Linked DNA regions of Homo sapiens: region 2 is linked to region 1. Evidence: promoter capture Hi-C in 16 types of primary human blood cells and fetal thymus (Javierre and others, 2016). All regions are on one chromosome and are shown on one strand. The core of a region is centred on a gene start or on the middle of the fragment in contact, and the rest is flanking DNA. Distances in the headings are between cores, read along the strand shown.

Region 1 (2,700 bases), core at 19-2,518:
CTCTTTTAGGAGAGTCAGTCAGGGAATTCTCTCATTCTCTTATGCTGCCTCCCTTATGCTCCGGCATAAGCTCCAATGAAGCCTTGCCTGGAGAAACTCTTTTGGCCTCAGGTCAATTTGCATTGAGAGACCAAGAACCCATGGTCATAACAAAATGAGGTACTGCCCCAGGCAGTTTGTTTTATTGAAGGTACCTGTTGAATCCTAGAGCCTAAACTTTACTTCTCCCAAACCACTTTCTTCATGCATTCAAAACTGGACTTGTTCCACTAAGTCTGCATCTGGTACAGAGACTTCTTGATGTTTACTTAGGCAGTGGCCCATAAGAGTGCTCATTGAAACACCAATCATCATTCATTCATACTTCAATAAATAACTTGTATGGAGAAAAGAGGCTGGGCATGGTGGCTGACGCCTGTGATCCCAGCGCTTTGGGAGGCACACAGGAAGACTGTTTGTGGCCAGGAGTTCAAGACCAGCTTGGGCAATATAGGGAGACTCTATCTCTACAAAAAAATTTAAAAATTAGCCGGGTGTGTGGTGGCACACGGCTGTAGTCCCAGCTACTGGGGAGGCTGAGGTAGGAGGATTGCTTGAACCCAGGAGTTTGAGGCTGCTGTGAGCTATAATCGTGCTACTGCATTCCAGCCTGGGCAACAGAGCGAGACGAGAGAGAGAGAGAAGAAATGTGTGTGTGTGAGAGAAGAGAGAAGAAATGTGTGTGTGTGTGAGAGAGAAGAAATGTGTGTAAGAGAGAGAGGGAAAGGGGGAGGGAGAGAGAGAGAAAGAGAGAGAGAGAGAGAGAGAGATTGATTAACCAAGTCCTGGAAGGCAGCCGTGGTCAGAAGTGGGGTTCTGGAGAGGGTGGGAGGAAAGGAGGTGTGCCTAGATTTGAGGGAGATCAAATTTGGAAGGTAGGCTGCGGTCAGTACACACATTTACCATTGAAAACATTGATGTCACCATTAACATGCTCTCAGAGCTTGAAGACTGCGAAAAAGGTCCGGAGAACTGGCATGACTTTTAAGTATGCACCTTGGGTTTGTTTCTCACTTGCAGCCAGGCAGAGCGTCCTCCTCTAGAGGGAGCAGGGAAAAGAAAAAAAAAAAAAAAAAAAAAAAAAAAAAAATCAGGCGATCGCATTCTGTCTAATTTTGAGCCGCGCCTTTTGCCGTCCGCCATCACGTGCCGGCCCGCTGAGGCCGCGTTGATAGGTGGGGGCGACTGGGCCAGGCGCCGGGGCAGGAAGGGAGGCGGCCGCCGTGCCATTCTTAAAGGCGCCCGAGTGTAGGCGACAGGCCGCTGACGGCCGGAAGGAAAATGGTGAGTTGCCGCTGGGAGGGCGGGGGCCGGAGGGCTGGGCGAGCCGGCCAGCCGGGTTTTCCCGGTTTCCGGAGCCGGCGGCGGCGGGCAGCGCCCAGGAGGGCTCGGCGGCCGCTTCCGCTCCCAGCAGCTGGCCAGTGCCCATAGCTAGAGTACTTGGCCTCTGCCGCCGCCACCACGCCTCAGGGCAGCATCTTCCAGCTGGGCCCGGGGTGGACCCGCCCAGCGGGCCATGGGACTAGGGTGCGGCCACGAGCAGGGGGGTTGGGGAGGCCCCACGCCAGGTCCTTCTGGTTGGAGGGCTTCAGCTTCTGAGCTGTAGGTTGGAGGGAAAGGGGTCTGCCCCATCGGAGGGCTCCCTCAATTCCTGCTTTCCCTGCCAGGGCCGTGGCCAGGTTCCAGGGGTTGGTGGGCCCCGAGCATCTTCCACCTGGCGGCGTTTTGGGGGAGGACTCGAATTCCGATTGAATTCTCTCGGCCTCACCTTAGCTTCTTTCTCTCTGCTCCTTTCCCTAGCTTCCTACAGAGGATTTCTCCTTATCTTTGCTTTCCTATGGCAGTTGGAAACCTTTCGACCCAAAGCTTTGGCACTGGGCCTTAAAGTAATTGTCAATAACTTTAGTTTTGTTGGTTCTGGGGGCTGTGGCTTCTGTTCTTACATGGGATGGACCCCAAGCATAAAAATAAAGTGGAAAATTAAATAAATCGCCATCAAGGATCTTTTGGATCCATCCCATTAGGTTTTAAAATATGGGTAAATTTCATTAGAAACAACAAAACACTGCTCTCTGTGACCATCCACTCAATTCTCAGCCCACTTTCATCGAATAGATCTTGTCATGGTCACTGAATCGAATGGATTCTTTTCAGTTTTCGTCTTCTCTGACCTTTTAGCTGCATTCCAGAGTGTTATACTCTCTTGTTTTTGAAGCATTCTCTTCCTTCATTCTTCCCCTTTGGCTTCTGGGATACAGAGCTCCTCCTACTTCTCCTATTGGTCCATCTGTTTCCCTTTCAGACTATTCTCCTTTCCCTGGACAATGCTCGAAGGAGTCCCAGGTTTCATCCTAATCCTTCATTTTCCATTCTGTATTCTTCATCCTAAACTATGGCTTCAGTTACCATCTATATTCAGATGACTTGTGAATTTACAGCTCAGAAGACCTTGCTTCTGAGATCCAATCCAGATCTGTATGTACTTTTTTTTCTTTGAGTCGGAGTTTCACTCTTGTGGCCCAGGCTGGAGTGCAATGGCGGGATCTCGGCCCATTGCAACCTCCGCCTCCCAGGTTCAAGCAGTTCTCCTGCCTCAGCCTCCCAAGTAGCTGGGATTACAGGCATGTGCCACCACGCCCGGCTAATTTTGTTTTTTTGTTT
Region 2 (2,700 bases), core at 176-2,675, 780 kb before region 1:
AGCGGTCCTGGAATATGTTTTTATATTAAGTTATAGCCGGGTCTCAGTAAGAAAGCAAGAAAACAGCTTGTTGCTGACTTCTAAACCATGGTAGCATGGGGTGGTAGCATGGTACCATAGGGTGGGATAGGGACAACCTGGATAAATTAACTCCTCAGGTAATTATTATTTAAGACAAATGTTGGATTAATTCAAACTCCTCCCTCCCTTTACAACAGAAAAAAAAAATCATGTAAGATCCACTCTCCCTCCTCCTGGCCATTTTCTAACAAAAAATGCTAACAAGCAGATAGATGTCCAGTTAAAAAAAAAAAAAAAAAGCAAACTGATTTATCAACACTAGAAGTGGTTCTCTTTTTTTTCAGTAATTCTGATTGCAAACTATCAAACTACGAATTTAGCTTCCTAAAAGGCTTTTTACATTACACCCTCCAAAAAACCTCCTACCCTGACTTAAGTTTTTCTAAATCAAATGTCTTATACTGAGCTGTACTCGCAACGCTTGCTGGACAAGAAGTTAAAGAAATTGACAACTATTACATTAAAATTGCAAAATGCTGATACCGAACAACTTTCGATTCAAATCCACTGCGATTCCAAGCGTTCGTGGAAGACAACTTCCTTTTTCTACCCTGCGGGTCCCCCCGGCCCTTCCGTGAGCCCAGGTCCCCGCCCGGGCCTGCAGTGACATCCCAGGACCCATCTTCTGACGTCACAGACACACGGACCCACAGCCCTATGACTTCATCGTGGACTGAGGACGAACCGCAGTCGACTTGCGCCAGCCCAGAGGCTGGGGAGGCGTCCGAGCCTCCGTCCCGCCTCGTCGTTGAAGAAGGTTAAGGACAAGCGCCAGCTCACCTGCGCTGGGGCAGGGAAGGGCAGAGTGGCCGAGCCCGGGAGGGCGCGACAGGGGCGAGGCGACCCCAGTCCAGAGGCTGACTTCCTCACCGCCCTGGGTCCCGTAAGTGGGAGCGCCGGTCCGGTGCAAGCTCACGGCCTATCCGTGAATCTCCTCGGCTTCAGCGGGGACCCAGGACCCCGCTCCCTACCCGCCCGACCCTCCGTGGCCCGCGGGGACGCTCAGCGCCCGGGCCGTGCGCGCGGAAAGAGCCGCACCGGAGGAGGCGCAGGCGGCCGGGTCCCTACCCCGGACCCGCGGGCGGCGCCCCCGCCCCCACCCCCACCCGCCCCGCGCCCCGGGAGCGCAGGCAGGCGGCGGTAGGGGGCGGGGAGCGGCCACGGTGGCCGCCGCCGGACCCCAGTCGCGCGGCCCTCGCGCCACGCCCCACCTCGGCCCGGACCCACCTGCGCTCCTGCCCCGGCCGCGGCCTGGCCCGGGGCTGCACCAGCCCGACGCAGTGGTGGCGGCAGCAGCGGTGGCGGGAGGCCTGGCTCACTCCCCACCGCTGAGTCGGACCGAGCACCCAGCGCGGCGCGGCGGCGCCCAACGCTCGCCCCGAAACCCATTTGTTTGGCTAAAACGGAGTGACGTCACGCGCCGGCCCAATCGACGGTTGGCCGGGGGAGGGGCCACGGATCCAGAGTTTCACGGCGCCCCCTGCCGGACACTGGGGGCGGGAAGGGGGAAGTGAAAAGGGAGACCTGGATGACGCGTCTGCGGCCCCCAAGTGGTAGAGAATGAAAGTTTGAGCACGACTGTAGGGAAAGGAATCAAACCTCCCAGGCCAGCCAAGAAGGGTAGTGACGCCAGGGTTCAATCAGCAGACATGTCAAGTTTATGAATATTCGTGGGTGGACCTGAAGCTGTAAATGGTCTCAGATACTATTAGATAACCTAGTAGACCTGGATCCTCATACTGGTTCTGCTGCTAGCTTGGAAGGCTGGGGTTCAGAGTTTCAATTTGTAAAATGACAAAATTGGAAAGGTCCCTTCTGACTCTCTTTCCTATGAAAATCATGGCAGGGATACCGGTCAGAAAGTAGATAAACGTTGAGGCTGACACGAAACTGTTAAAGTCTGTAGAAGCTTAAGGGCTGGTTAATGATGGATATAAATTTTTAACACTTTATATTCAAATCAGAGGGCCAGTGAGGAACTTTTGATTCCCAATCTTTAAGCTTATTATTGTTTTCATTGTGAAAATAATATTAACCACATTGAAAAACATGAGGACAATGTATTTTCTTCTAGACCTTTTGCCCCATCACATATATTTTACTACACTGTAATAGTAGTTGTACGCGATTTTGCATCCTCTTTTCACTTTTATAAGCATTCCTCATATTTCCACATAAGCTTCATAACCAGTTTAACAGCTGCATAAAATTACATTAAGTGGACATAAAATTTACTGCAGTAATTCTCTATTTTTGGACATAACTTGTTTCCTTCATTCACTTTTTGCCATTATAAAGAAATCATAGAACATCTTCATGAATGTAGATTTTTAAAGATACCCAAAAGTGAAATTACTAGGTGAAAAAGACTATCAACACTTTCACAGTTACTAATACAAACTGCCAAATGATTTTTAAAAGGTTGTACCAAGTTACACTTAAACCAGCAACTTTGATTTTAGCCAGTCCTTAACAAAAATAATTTTGTCCAATTATAAAACTACTGTTGTAAAATATATGTGTAAAATCTTAAATATTAAAACGTAAAAACAAAATAAAAATATTTCCCATAATCTCATCACCAAGAAATAACCACTCAGTATCTCCATCTAGACCTTT

What was found. Contacts are between HindIII fragments. The CHiCAGO score rates a contact against its expected background, and 5 or more counts as called.
Region 2: the fragment with the promoter of FBXO34 here is called in contact with the fragment with the promoter of GMFB in region 1 in 3 of 17 cell types (monocytes, naive CD4 T cells and total CD8 T cells); the score reaches 5.6 in monocytes.

What each region holds. Positions count from the first base shown.
Region 1 is chr14:54,487,548-54,490,247 of GRCh38, reverse strand. GMFB (glia maturation factor beta) reads left to right here and starts at 1,268. Exons shown (of 7, transcript NM_004124.3): 1 at 1,268-1,323. The coding sequence starts at 1,321. RefSeq lists a silencer at 1,186-1,585. The HindIII fragment of the contact is 2,730 bases long and covers 1-1,907 here.
Region 2 is chr14:55,270,146-55,272,845 of GRCh38, reverse strand. FBXO34 (F-box protein 34) reads right to left here and starts at 1,425. Exons shown (of 2, transcript NM_017943.4): 1 at 1,309-1,425. It overlaps FBXO34-AS1 (FBXO34 antisense RNA 1), which reads left to right and starts at 768. Exons shown (of 2, transcript NR_184222.1): 1 at 768-964. RefSeq lists a silencer at 874-1,373. The HindIII fragment of the contact is 2,090 bases long and covers 1-1,992 here.